5 separate regions of the Homo sapiens genome follow, and all the other regions are linked to region 2. Evidence: promoter capture Hi-C in 16 types of primary human blood cells and fetal thymus (Javierre and others, 2016). All regions are on one chromosome and are shown on one strand. The core of a region is centred on a gene start or on the middle of the fragment in contact, and the rest is flanking DNA. Distances in the headings are between cores, read along the strand shown. Region 1 overlaps SLC5A1 (solute carrier family 5 member 1). Region 2 holds the start of RTCB (RNA 2',3'-cyclic phosphate and 5'-OH ligase). Region 3 has its middle 10 kb from the start of LINC02558. Region 4 has its middle 21 kb from the start of C22orf42. Region 5 overlaps SLC5A1 (solute carrier family 5 member 1).

Evidence for each region. Contacts are between HindIII fragments. The CHiCAGO score rates a contact against its expected background, and 5 or more counts as called.
Region 1: a contact is called between a fragment that was not itself captured here and the fragment with the promoter of RTCB in region 2, in 1 of 17 cell types (M0 macrophages). The highest score is 5.2, in M0 macrophages.
Region 3: a fragment that was not itself captured here is called in contact with the fragment with the promoter of RTCB in region 2 in 1 of 17 cell types (total CD8 T cells); the score reaches 7.3 in total CD8 T cells.
Region 4: a fragment that was not itself captured here is called in contact with the fragment with the promoter of RTCB in region 2 in 3 of 17 cell types (non-activated CD4 T cells, naive CD4 T cells and total CD8 T cells); the score reaches 7.3 in non-activated CD4 T cells.
Region 5: a fragment that was not itself captured here is called in contact with the fragment with the promoter of RTCB in region 2 in 2 of 17 cell types (total CD4 T cells and naive CD4 T cells); the score reaches 5.9 in total CD4 T cells.

Annotation. Positions count from the first base shown.
Region 1 is chr22:32,079,155-32,081,854 of GRCh38, forward strand. All of the region lies in intron 5 of SLC5A1 (solute carrier family 5 member 1), which reads left to right. Among named protein-coding and RNA genes, the nearest start is that of SLC5A1, 37 kb to the left of the region's middle. The HindIII fragment of the contact is 2,523 bases long and covers 97-2,619 here.
Region 2 is chr22:32,410,945-32,413,644 of GRCh38, forward strand. RTCB (RNA 2',3'-cyclic phosphate and 5'-OH ligase) reads right to left here and starts at 1,303. Exons shown (of 12, transcript NM_014306.5): 1 at 1,120-1,303. The coding sequence starts at 1,212. RefSeq lists an enhancer at 1,273-1,452. The HindIII fragment of the contact is 2,194 bases long and covers 209-2,402 here.
Region 3 is chr22:31,959,085-31,961,784 of GRCh38, forward strand. No RefSeq gene overlaps it. Among named protein-coding and RNA genes, the nearest start is that of LINC02558, 10 kb to the right of the region's middle. The HindIII fragment of the contact is 3,046 bases long and covers 1-2,700 here.
Region 4 is chr22:32,136,857-32,139,556 of GRCh38, forward strand. No RefSeq gene overlaps it. Among named protein-coding and RNA genes, the nearest start is that of C22orf42, 21 kb to the right of the region's middle. The HindIII fragment of the contact is 8,725 bases long and covers 1-2,700 here.
Region 5 is chr22:32,099,832-32,102,531 of GRCh38, forward strand. SLC5A1 (solute carrier family 5 member 1) reads left to right here. Exons shown (of 15, transcript NM_000343.4): 13 at 2,191-2,406. Among named protein-coding and RNA genes, the nearest start is that of SLC5A1, 58 kb to the left of the region's middle. The HindIII fragment of the contact is 4,968 bases long and covers 1-2,700 here.

The DNA.
Region 1 (2,700 bases), core at 108-2,607, 330 kb before region 2:
ACCCTAGTGGGTTTGTTTGGCAGCTAGGAAGGACCAAAGACTAATGTCAGAGCACCCAGACTAGAGTGGCCTTGCTCAGCTGGAGTCAGCTACATAAGCTTAGCTAAGGTATTCCCAGCCTGGCCTTTGGCATGCCAAGGCAGAATTCATCTCTGAAGTTAGAATGACTCATGCGAGGAAGAATTTGTCCTAGGTTTCTTCAATTCACCAGGGAGGTTTCCTTAGAATCCTTTATCTGTACTGTTAGAAGGAAATAGAATATCATAAAAACAAGACTTTTATTAGCCCAACACTTTTCAGAAGTCTTTATAGAGGTCATTTATAGCATTATCTTATAACTTATGTGTTGCCTCTTTGTGACTAATGACAGCAAGGCACATATTAATGAGGGTATCACAGTCTACGATGGCATGTTGTCATAAAGCATTAAAAATTAACTACTCTGGAAAATCAACCAAGGGCAGTTTAAAGGCAGTGTCAGCTTTGTAATCTTTTCCTATCTTATTTACACTTATTAGCTAATCCACCAAATCAAACGTGTGTGCATTTAACAGAATTTCACTGCAATCAGTGAATGGGGCCCCTTGAATTTAAGTAACTTTATGTGACTGTGTAGAGGCATGAGAGGAGAGGGACCAGCATTATAAATATTCATTACAATTTCAAATGGCCCAGTGTGCAGAGTCAGGAAGAAGTGGCCATTTCACTTTTGGCAAGACTTATGCACAGCAGAGGCGCCTTCCTCCTCTTGGGCTACTGCAGAGGGCAAGGCAGAATGGAAGCGGTCCAGAACCCGGGAGAAGAATGCTTTCCTCACTGCAGACCTTTCCCACTTCCAACCACTGAGAATCACAAGTCCCTGGAGCCAGGACTTCCTGCATAAACACGAGGACACTGAGAATTAGAGAGGGGAAATGTTTTGCCCAAAGGTTTGCAGGCCTAGAGTGGCGGCACTGGGGCTAAAATGCTGGTTCTTCTGACTGCTAACTCCAGGGAGAGAGGAGTTTCTTTCTAACTCACCATCTCTCCTCCCACCTCCTGGCTCTGCCTCCCCTCCTTCACCAGGGAAGATGGTGACATTGGGTCCCCTGGGTGAGAGAATCTTCAGGGGAGATCTGGGCAGAGGGGAACTATGGCATCAGGTCCTCAAAAGGCCCACCTTCGGGAAGGAGGTCGAATCACCCTCCAGGGCTCACGTGTTAGCTCAGAAGCATGGAGTTGGTATTAGATGTGCTCTTTGCTAACTGATGGAGGGAGGGAATAGGAGATTCTCATAGGAGGGACAGGCAGGTATGGTGGGAAACTTAAACACTGGAGGGCCCTCAGGAGCAGCAATGGGATGGGGACTGGGAAACGGAACTAGAGAGGAGATGCAAGATATAAGAGGAGATGTGAGAAGTAAGAGTCCAACCCTGCTGGCCCATCCCCAAGGCTCCGTCTGGGTGCTGTTTGCGTGCCGTGAAATGTTAGGGTTTGTGCAGTGAAAACAGTTCGTGCATTCATTCCATCTAGGGAAGTCCAGTTTCGTCCACACCTGGAGATTTGAAAACAAAAGACTCAGCTGGGCGCAGTGGCTCACGCCTGTAATCCCAGCACTTTGGGAGTCCAAGGCAGGCAGATCACGAGGTCAGGAGTTCGAGACCAGCCTGACCAACATGGTGAAATCCTGTCTCTACTAAAAATACAAAAATTAGCTGGGTGTGGTGGTGCACACATGTAATCCCAGCTACTCAGGAGGCTGAGGCAGGAGAATCGCTTGAACCCAGGAGGCAGAGGTTGCAGTGAGTTGAGATCGCACCACTGCACTCTAGCCCGGGCGACAGAGTGAGACTCTGTCAAAAAATAAATAAATAAAAAAGACTCACCATGATCATCCCTTAATACTACCCTCCCTGGTATTGTTTTGGAGATGACATGAACATGCATTTGGGGTGACCCTGGTGCTCTCTGCTGGTTTATATGAGCAACTGCACCATCCAGCCAGGTAGAAGGTTCATTAGGAGAAGGCTGAAAGAGACAGGAAGGAGGAGAAAGGGTGAAGATGGAAGAACTGCATCAAGAATTCAGGAGTGAGGAGGGAGCAATTCTCCCAGAAATTACATGAAATAATCTAAATAAAACCAGCAAGTACCAAGCCTGCTATGTAAGAGGTGCTTGGTGATGTTCTGGTTGTGTCTGAGTCAAGATGGACTGCATCCGGGTTGGGGAGTTAAAATTACAAACTTGCTAAGTTTCTCCCCGCTCCTGGGTGGGGGTGGGGTTTCTCACTTATGGACTCTCCAGCACTCAGACTTGCTTTTGGGGACGAGCTCTGATAAACCTGTGTACACTGAGGTGCAAAAGATGGACAATAGCTCAGAGCAACAGTCTACAGGTGACTTGCAAGGAACCTCTAAGTGTTAATAGCTGTTCCTTGGCAAAAAGAGTTCAATAGTTGAGTGAGTTTGTGAGATGTCATGTACCGTGTTCCCTCCCTGGGGATGACTGTACATGGCATATATTAAAGGCTCAGAAAAGTTGTGTGGCAAAGAAACTGCCTTAATTCTGTTTAGCATTTTATAGACCTTTTTGACCATGGAATTCTTTTTCTCATGGAATACGTATTATCATCTTGAATAAAGCTTGCTTGGAAAATCAGGAGTAGAGAGACTACAGGCCCTGTAGGCAGCTGACCACTCTCCCTCCTAACTCCGCCTCTCC
Region 2 (2,700 bases), core at 53-2,552:
AGGATCTTCCCGCCTTGGCCTCCCAAAGCGTTGGGATTACAGGCCATGAACCACTGCGCTCTCCCTATGTTAGATTTTCTATTCCTTCCTTCAGGGTAACGGTTTCCACACAAAGAAAGTGGCCAAACAGCAAACAGAACACAGATTTATCCCCGTGCGCTTTTTCTTCCCTCAGTGTAAGTGACTTGCCAACAAGGGAAACTCAGTAAGCTTTGATTCTGAATAAAAGAATGGAGTGACTATTGGGAGCTGTTTACCAAGACGTGAGACGAGACGGTAAACCTTTGAAGCATTTACTTGGCACCTTCAGGGATTTCAAAAACTATTTAAAAATACGTTGCAAAACTTCATAAACGTTTTCTTTTTTCACATTAATAAAAATATGAGCACAGATGGTGATGAAGGCCGAGAGATACAGAGCCCAGGCTTTCAAACTATCTGATGATCCTGAGCCCTCAAGTCTCCATCTGGGACGTCAAAGAAGTAAACCGGACATCAAGTCCTGGCTGAGCTTCTTCCTAGGTGGGTAGAGGAAGCTATGTCACCGACAGATCCTCGAGGTCCTTCTGTGAAGTGAATATTAAAATCAAACAGGCCCTGCCCTGCGCTACTGCAAGAAATGACATCGCTTTATTAAAAACCAACATGCGATACTGAATGCTGAAAACCTGGTTTAGTGAACAAAGGTTTGTAAACGTTATTTAAATAACCAGCATGACTCAGAGGAGGTGAATTCCAGTCCCAGCAAATGAACCTGGGGCTGGCTGTTCCACCCTGGAAAAGATCACTGAAGTTTCTGTGAACGTAAAACAGCTCACGATACGTTTATGAGACTGATCTGTGAAAACGCTTTGGAAACCCCAATTTCGTATTTATTTAGATTCCCATATCCACCGCACTTAGCTTGTCCTCGTGGTTCGGGGACCTCTCCTGGCGGGAGGTGGTGCCGGAACAGGTTGGGCGGCCCCAGAACCGTGAGGGGAGAAGGACGGGATGAGGGAAACTCTGCAAGGGGCCGGGGCGGACCCAGTGGTCAGGGGAGGTCCAGAGGGCGCAGTGGACGCCGGCCGGGCCGGGGACGGAGCACGGAAGGCCCCGCCATTTGCTCTCCTGCCTTACCTGCATGTTGGGCACGAAGCCCTTCTTGATCCTCCAGCAGTTTTTATTGATCTTCTCCAAGAACTGCAGCTCATCATTATAGCTGCGACTCATGGTGGCGAAAACTGTAGCAAAAACTCCCGGCTCCGCTTTGAAGAGCCGCTGCCGCGTAGTCCGGCTTCTCAGAGCACCGCCTTCCAAGAACCAAAGCGCAGGCGCGACCAGCGCCGCAGCAGATGAGCAACGGCAAGCGCCGAGGCTCAAAATTCTTCAGGCCAATGTCTTTCCTCTGGTTAAGTTGTACTGTCCTGTAGTGTATAACTTTAGGATCTTTATTAGTCGATTTCCTCTAAACTACAGCTAAGCGAAATCCAGAAGTTTAAAGTATAATCTAGTTATCTTTTGTTTTGGAAATGCTTTTCAGCAGCTTATGAAAACACCTTGAGTCTGGGTCAGGTTCGGTGCATTGGCTTGGAGTTTACACCCTCAGCTGGGAGGGGAAAAAGATAACGCCAGCAGCTGAGAAAGAAAAACCTGTTTGAGTAAATACCATAGCTGAACATTTATGTTTCAGAATGAATCTGGATATACACCAAATAACTTTTTTGGTCAGAAAGGAGCATCCCAAAGAATGAAGCATGGCAGCTTATCATTTATTCTGACAAACACTTGTGGGTGCATCTATTGTGGCCAGACATATACTACAAAATGATCAAATCACAGCCCTTATGGATCGCCAAAACTCCCCAGTCTAGCCGCATTTGATGATCAAGACCTCTTTAATCATGCTTTTATACGCCGTGTCTCTTGTTCATAGTGGTAAGTGAGCTTTAAGTGATTTCAGTTTCCAGTTCGGCCTCATGTCAACAACTGCAACTTTGGGATTAGAAAGACGCAAGATTCAATTTCTATCTGTGCCATTTACTGACTTGGTGTGATTAACCCCTCTTATCTCTGTTTCGTCATCTCTAAAATGGGATCATAATTCTTTCTTGAGTAGAAGGCTAAATGAAGTGACACTGGAGGGGTAATCAGCACGGGGCTTGGCACACGGCAAGCACTCTATAAACAGCTCTCCTCTTTCCATTCCCCCACTAGACTGTAAGTGCTGCAAAAAACAGTATGTAGTTTCCATTCATTTGTTGCATTATCTACACTGGTTCCGCTTTTCTTCTCTTCTGCCCCAATTTCTCCCCATTGATTAGGTGCTCTGACACATTAATATCATTCTCAGTTATGAATTGTCTGAGTTTAGTACTCTGCACTGCCATTTCATTGAATCTGTGGTGGGTGAAAAATCCCAAAGCTTGAAGTGATACAACTTTTAGAGTTTCCTGTGGTTACCCTGTTCCTTCTTGGAAAGATTTCAGAGGTAAAGAATTCTCTTTTAAAATCAAGCCTTGATGTCTGTGCAACCTTAGGTCTCTTCCCTTTTCTATGTCTTATTTTATTTTATTATTTTTTTGAGTTGGAGTCTTGCTCTGTCGCCAGGCTGGAGTGCAGTGGTGCCATCTCGGCTCACTGCAACCTCCGCCTCCCAGGTTCAAGCGATTCTCCTGCCTCAGCCTCCCAAGCAGCTGGGACTACAGGTGCGTGCCACCA
Region 3 (2,700 bases), core at 29-2,528, 450 kb before region 2:
TCTCACACACACACACAAAGGGCTCTTACATTTTCTTTTTTTGTTTGAGATGGGAGTCTCACTCTTGTCACCCAGGCTGGAGTGCAATGGCACGATCTCAGCTCACTGCAACCTTTGCCTCCCAGGTTCAAGTGATTCTCCTGCCTCAGCCTCCTGAGTAGCTGGGATTACAGGCACCCACTGTCGTGCCCGGCTAATTTTGGTATTTTTGTGGAGATGGGGTTTCACCATGTTGGCCAGGCTGGTCTTGAACTCCTGACCTCAAGTGATCCTCCCACCTCAGCCTCTCAAAGTGCTGGGATTACAGGCATGAGCCACTGTGCCCGGTCGCTTTTACATTTGAAATGTCCTTTGCAGTTGCTAAAGCATTCACATTTACGTTTTACAGCTGTCTTCTGAAAGGTTTTGTCCCACTTTACAGATGAGGAAGCTAAAGTGCAAAGGTTGTGGATCTCTGGAATTTATACAGCTGGTAAGCTAGAGGACAGCTTCCACCCAAGATTTATTCAGAATTTTAACGGCCCTCTGGGGGGCCTGGGGAACCTTGGCAAGCCATGCCACCTTTGAGGTTCAGGTCCCTCATTTTTTAAGTGTAGGATTTGGGTTATGTTTTAATCTAAGTTCATGGTGTGTAAGGCACCTTCTTTGGGAATGAGGTATGGGGAAGTATGGACATACGTGATTAATGTTAGCCACATAGGTCGCGTGCAGTGGCTCATGCCTGTAATCCCAGTACTTTGGGAGGCTGAGGTGGGTGGATCACTTGAGGTTAGGAGTTCGAGACCAGTCTGACCAATATGGTGAAACCCCGCCTCTACTAAAAATACAAAAATTAGCTGGGTGTGGTGGCTGGTGCCTGTAATCCCAGCTACGATGGAGGCTGAGGCAGGAGAATCACTTGAACCCAGGAGGCGGAGGTTGCAGGGAGCCGAGATTGTCCCACTGCACTCCAGCCTGGGCAACAGAGTGAGACTCGGTTTCAAAAAAAAGAAAGAAAAGGAGGTTAGCCACATAAATAATAGATGAGGCTCTTTGAAAGGACCTAAGAGGGTGCTGTAAATTACATGTGATGTAAGCCTGGAAGTCTTCACTGCTGCATATTTTTTCCCCAATTCTACTTAAAACGTTTTAAAACTTGTCAAGATAACTTTCTCAAATCGTTAAGAAGGGGTCATCTCAATGTTACAGCATGAGAAATTAAAGTCCAGAGAAATGAAATAGCTTTCTAGGTCATGGCAAAATTGGTGCATCTGGAGTAGCATTCAGATCCCGAATCCTTGTCCCTGGTTCTCTTAACTGCCATGCTCTTTGGGTTGAGACTAGAAAGAAAATGGATACAACACATTTCACCCTTAGGAGACTTTCAGTGTTTTTAATGTTTTCACTTAGAATGGAAGAAATTATACTTGAAAAGGGATGTTTAAATTTATTGATGTTGGCTGGGCGCGGTGGCTCACGCCTGTAATCCTAGCAGTTTGGGAGGCCGAGGTGGGCGGATCACCTGAGGTCAGGAGTTCGAGACCAGCCTGACCAACATGGAGAAACCCCATCTCTAGTAAAAATGCAAAATTAGCCGGGCATGGAGGCGCATGCCTGTAATTCCAGCTACTCAGCAGGCTGAGGCAGGAGAATCGCTTGAACCTGCGAGGCAGAGGTTGCGGTGAGCCGAGATCGCGCTATTGCACTCCAACCTGGGCAACAAGAGCAAAAACTCCGTCCCCGCCCCCCCCCCCCCCCCAGAAAAAATTATTGTTGCTATTGCTTCAGATTTCCAGTAGCTCCTCAAACCCTGCTCAAAAGTCCATTTCTTTGAGTTGGGGGAAGGGGTAGGATTCTTGATAATGAAGCTATTGTTGGGTAAATTCTTGGCCGTCCTTAAATCCTTCGGGATCAGGGAGCTAGGATTCCTCTTGGCTCTGTAAGATTAAATAGGCTGTGCGTGGGCCATCAGGCCCTCCATACCTTCCTCCCATACACCCTTAGAATCTGCCATCCAGAGACTGAGAGGGTCCTCATCTTAGCAGATGTGACTATCAGGCAAGCACAAACACTATGATTCAGAGCTGGGTGTGACTTAACAGGTCTTCTTTCATTATAAAACCCAATCATTAGACTGGCTAATAAAAATTACCATCTCAAATACTTACTGTGTCTTGGGTACTTTGAATGCATGGTCTCTGAATCTTTACAGCAGCCTTAGCAGTGAGGAATGTTAATATTTTTAACACATGAGGAAACCAGGTATTCGGTGATGTAACGTGCATAGCTAGTAAGAGGCAAGGTTGAGATTGAAATGGGCTGTCTTACTTTAAGGTTCTTTCCACTACGCCATGGATATTTTGATCCCCAACTAGAGAAAAGGAGTCCTAGAAATGTTATAACAAGCCTGGCAAGGTGGTTTACACCTGTAATCCCAGTACTTTAGGAGGCCGAGGTGGGAGGAGGATTGCTTGAGTCCGGGAGTTTGAGACCAGCCCGAGCAACACAGTAAAACCCCATCTGTACTAAAAGTACAAAAATTTAGCCAGCTGTGTTGTTGCATGCCTGTAGTCCCACCTATTTGAGAGGCTGAGGTGGGAGGATTGCTTGGTCCTGGGAGGTTGAGGCTGCAGTGAGCCCTGATTACACCACTGCACTCCAGCCTGGGTGACAGCCTGTCTCAAGCAAACAAACAAACCTGAAGGAATCTATTGTCAAATT
Region 4 (2,700 bases), core at 81-2,580, 270 kb before region 2:
CAGGCTCATACAAAAACTACTCCCTAGGACCCCCTATGCCCCCCTCCCCAGCCCCCACCTGCAGCTGTGGTGCAGGAAAGCTGAACCCCTGACTCCGGTGGGCATTTGCTCAGCAGGGTGTCCACAACTCTGCCTGCGCTTCTGAAGCTGAGATGAGACAGTCAGCCCCATGCATACAATGACAGGATGTCTGGAAATGCAGAGGCCCAAGGAAATTCATGTCTGGATCAGGTTTTCCCTTTGATTGTGGCCCAGGAATGGGAATGAGCTCCTGGGAGGGCGTTTGCTTCCCTAAGGAGTGAAGTGGCATGGAAGGGGACAGGGATTCTCTACGTTATAGGGTTGTGGTAACCCTGATCTCTTGGTGACCACAAAGTAAGAGCAGGGAGGCATCCTCAGGTATCCCCAATGCCCCAGAGTCTCAGCAGCCACGGGAAGGTCCAATCTGACCACAACCACAACTCCAGGGGTCTCACTTCCATCCTCTCTGGTGTTGCTTTAGCCTGTAGGCTGAAGATTAACCCCCACCCTAATCGCTTGTGCTATCTATAGATCACAGACAATGGTGTGGAGAAATACTTGCCTTGCTTACCCCCACCTAGTCATGTACCCCATGCTTGCTCAGTCTATCACGACCCTGTCACGTGGACCCCTTAGAGTTGTAAGCCCTTAAAAGGGCCAGGAACTCTTTCTTTGGGGAGCTCGGTTCTGTTCTTATGACGCAAGTCTGCTGACCTCCCGGCCTAATAAAGCCTCTTCCTTCTTTAACCCGGTGTCTGAGGAGTTTTGTCTGTGGCTCATCCTGCTACATTTCTTGGTTCCCTGACCGGGAAGTGAAGCAGCCCCTTAGGTGGCTTAGGCTTGCCCTGTGGAGCATCCCTGCAGGGGACTCTGGCCAGCTTGAGCTACGTGGATCCTGAGCATGCTCCTGGGTAGGCATTTGCCCCGGTGGAATGCCTTGTCAGAGCAGTGCATGGCAGGCCCCAGCAGAGGATCAATGCAGTGGCTGAGCACCGGGAGGGAACTGGCGCTTGGAGTCCGTATATCTGGAACATGGTAGGACTGGTCTTGGGAACTTGCCCACTCCATTTGAGTGGAAGCATGGCCTGATCACCCACAGAGTGCCTTTATCGGCACTTTGGTTTTGGTTTTGATTTTGACTTGGTTTGAATTCCTTGGCAAACGGGCGTGCCTTTGTCGGCACTTTGGTTTTGGTTTTGATTTTGACTTGGTTTGAATTACTTGACAAATGGGCGTGCCTTTATCGGCACTTTGGTTTTGGTTTCGATTTTGACTTGAATTGCTTGACAGGACCTGTCTTGGGAACTTGTCCACTCCATTTGAGTGGAAGCATGGCCTGATCACCCACAGCGTGCCTTTATCAGCACTTTGGTTTTGGTTTTGGTTTTGGTTTTGACTTGGTTTAAATTGCTTGACGAACGGGCGTGTCCTTTATCTGCACTTTGGTTTTGGTTTTGATTCTGATTTGGTGTGAATTCCTTGAACCCATTAACCCACGGGTGGCCCGAATGCATTCAGTCTGTAGCGGCAACTGCTTTGCTGACAGAAGAAAGTAGAAAAATAACTTTTAGAGGAAACCTCATTGTGAGCACACCTCACCAGTTCAGAAGTATCCTAAGTTAAAAAAAAAAAAGCAAAAAGGTAGCTTAATAACTCAAAAATCTTAAAGTATGGGGCTACTCCGTTAGAAAAAGATGATTTAACATAAACCCCTGAAAATTCCCTTAACCCAGAAGATTTCCTAACAGGGAATTTAAATCTTAATTACCATACAAAGATCCGACCAGACCTAGGAGGAACTACCTTCAGGACAGGATGATAGATAGTTCCTCCCAGGTGATTAAGGAGAAAAACCACAATGGGTATTTTGTAATTGAGGAAAACTCTTGTAGAAGTAGAGTTAGGAAAATTGCCTAATAATTGGTCTGCTCAACTTTGCCACCCAGCCAAGCCTTGAAGTACTTACAGAACCAGGAAAAAAAAAAGCCATCTATACCAATTCTAAGTTAATCTGGACTAAACAAAGTCTTATTAATAGCAAAGGATAATTGAAATCCCACACTTACAAGGTTTTCAACAAAAGTAAAGTTGTTTTGCTAAAAGTTAACAGTGTAACGTGTATGATAGTAACTTCTAATCTGTGGCCTTAGACAGTCTAGTCCACAGACCTGAAGGAAGTTTGCTTTGGAAAAGAATGGTTATCATCTTCGAAAAAAAGAAAAAAGAAAAAAAGTGGGGGTGCAGAATTTATATAAAAAGGAATGTTATATGGAAAATTCTTGTCCTGAAATAAATTAACTAGTTGTTTAAGGAAAGGGATGTTTCCAATAAGTCAGAAAGTTGAGACATGTCGAAGAATTGTCTGTGAAAATCATGAAAAAAAGTGTTAGAAAAAGAAATTTATGCAAGAAATGTTGTATAATTTAAATTAATTATCCTCCTGAATGTAAAACTGTTGAAGAAACAGTTTATGTGCAAGGTATATAAGGAAAGTAAAATATGCCTTTGGTAAAAGGATTATAAGGAAGCATAAGAATGTGGATTTTTACCTACATTAAAAGGTTACAAAAATTGTTTTGAAGGTTTAAGCAAGTTTTGAAACATTAATTGTAAAGAAAATTCTGTGTGTAAACATATTGGCTAAAGTTAAAGGGGTATCATCCAGTTTTTCTGTGAACT
Region 5 (2,700 bases), core at 77-2,576, 310 kb before region 2:
TGAACTCGGCTTTCCAGCCAGCACCTCTCAGGGCCCAGTGAAGACAAAGTCCTGGTGCACAAGCAGTTTATACATAAAACAAAGTGCGTAAGAAGTAAGGGATACAATACAGCACATGATATGAGCAGGAAGGGATTTAAGAAAGGCTTTATTAGCAGGGACTGAAACTGTCAGGGAAGGCTCCTTGGACCAGCTGGAGCTGGAAGAATTTGAAGTTGGAGAGGGAAGACATGGCATTCAAGTCAGAGAACAGTACTGCCCAGACCTTTCAGGCAGAAGTAGGACAGGAGTGAGGGTGAAGGACTTGTATGGAATCTCACCTGGCTCAAGGAGAGTTTGTGAATGTGAAAGATGGAAGATGTGGCTGGAAAGGTAGGTCAGGGTTTCATTAACAGTGATCCCTTTGGTGGAATCTTTAGGTTTTTCTAAATATGAGATCATATCATATGTAAATGAGGCCAATTTGACTTCTTCTTTTCCAATTTGGATGCCCTTTTTCTCTTGCCTAACTGCGCTGTCTAGGACTTCCAGTACTATGTTGAATAAAAGTGGTGAAAGGGTATCCTTTTCTTTTTCCAGATCTTACCGGAAAGGCTTTCAATTTTTCCCTGTTCAGTATGATGTCAGCTGTGAGTTTGTCATATATAGCTTATAATCTTTATTGTTTTTGAGGTTTGTTACTTCTGTACCTAATTTGTTGAGTTTTTATTATGAAAAAATTTGAATTTTTAAAAAATTATTTCGTGGCAAATTTATTGATTTTTTTTGAGACAGGAATCTCACTGTATTGCCAAGGCTAGTCTCAAACTCCTGAACTCAAGTGATTCTTCTGCCTCAGCCTCCAAAGTAGCGAGGACTACAGGCACACCCCATGCCCAGCTAAGAAATAATTTTTTTGAGTGAAATAGTGCATGGGGGATGAATAGGGAACATATTTTTTTCTTTTTCCTTATTTATTTCTTCATCTAGAAGTCACTTCCAGATGCCAGCATAGGGTGAGGCACTAGCAACACAAAGTGAATGAAACCTGTTTCCTTTCCTGGGCAATCCCCCGGTTCAGATTGGGAGACAGAGAACTATTGTGATTCCATGGCAGTGTGGTTGGTGCTTGCCTGGATCTGTGTCCACAGTGCTGTGGCCACAGCAAGAAAGGGTGCACCCACCCTGTGTAGCTTGTCCTATTTAAGCTAGAATGAGGTTACCAGGAAGAGAAGAGCCTGTATTCTCCCAGATAGAATGAGCTGTACAAAGACCTGGAGACAAAAACACATGCCATGCCATGTGTGGGGGATAGCTGATAATTTGGAATAGAAAGTGCAGGGATACCAATGGCTAGCAAAGAGGCTGACCAGCACCTGATAAAACTGTGAAAGCTCTTTTGGGCCACCCTTCTAAGAGCACATTCTATTTTGCCACTGGCCTGCCAAACTCAAACCTAGTCCTTTAGGTGAGGACTTACCTAAGGGAAAGATAGAAAGGAAAAAAGGAAGGAGGGAAGGAAGGAAGGAGTAAAAAAAACCCTGAAAAATCATCCCCTCATGTTTCTGGTCTCTTAAAGTCTTCCATATTCTAATATGCAGACCCAAAATTTAATGTAAAAACACAGTATAATTTTATGTTCTCAAACTAAAAATAGTTCATAAAATAAACTACAAAGAGGGCTAAAAAAGTAAGTGTTATTTATATTTTGATGGAAAAGTTTCTTTCTCCTTCATCTTCCAAAGACCCAATTTCTTTTCCCATGTCTTTGTGAAATACAAATTACCTCACAAGTAATTACTTTTCATCTGAATATGCCTAAATCTGGAGATTGGTGTTGACAGTAGCTGCAGGTGGAGAGGCTCAAATTATTTTTCAAGTTAAAGGGAATTTTTGGAATCAAGTCTGTAGGTTGACATTCTATTCCAGTTATTAGACACTTTACCCCATTATATTATGGCTCCTTGTTTAATGATCGAGGTGAAATCATGTTGCTGAAACATGATAGACAGACACACTGAGTGTGTCTGTCTGAGTGCATAGCACTCCTAGCCATATTCTGAACTTCAGTGTTCTGGGTTCAGACAGCCTGGAGCTACCACTTCTCCTACCTCTGTTCCTTTGCCTCTGCCTATGCCTCTCCAAAGAATGTTAGAAAGGCCATCTGTTTTGTGTGTTCAGCATGAGTTAACCCAGGGTTTTCTTTCACAGGGAGCCTTTTGGGGACTGATCCTAGGACTTCTGATTGGGATTTCACGTATGATTACTGAGTTTGCTTATGGAACCGGGAGCTGCATGGAGCCCAGCAACTGTCCCACGATTATCTGTGGGGTGCACTACTTGTACTTTGCCATTATCCTCTTCGCCATTTCTTTCATCACCATCGTGGTCATCTCCCTCCTCACCAAACCCATTCCGGATGTGCATGTGAGTATCCATTTAGGGGATCTGTCCTTGTTTCATGTTCACACTGCAATGTTCTTTAATTTTTTTTAAATTTTTCATTATTATGGGTACATAATAGTTGTATATAATTATGGGGTACATGTAATGTTTTGATACAGGCATACAATATAAAATAATCAAATCAGGGTAATTGGGGTGTCCATTGCCTCAAGCATTTATCATTTCTTTGTGTTAGGAACATTCCAATTCCACTCTTAGTTATTTTAAAATACAGATTATGGTGGCTCATGCCTGTAATCCCAGCACTTTGGGAGG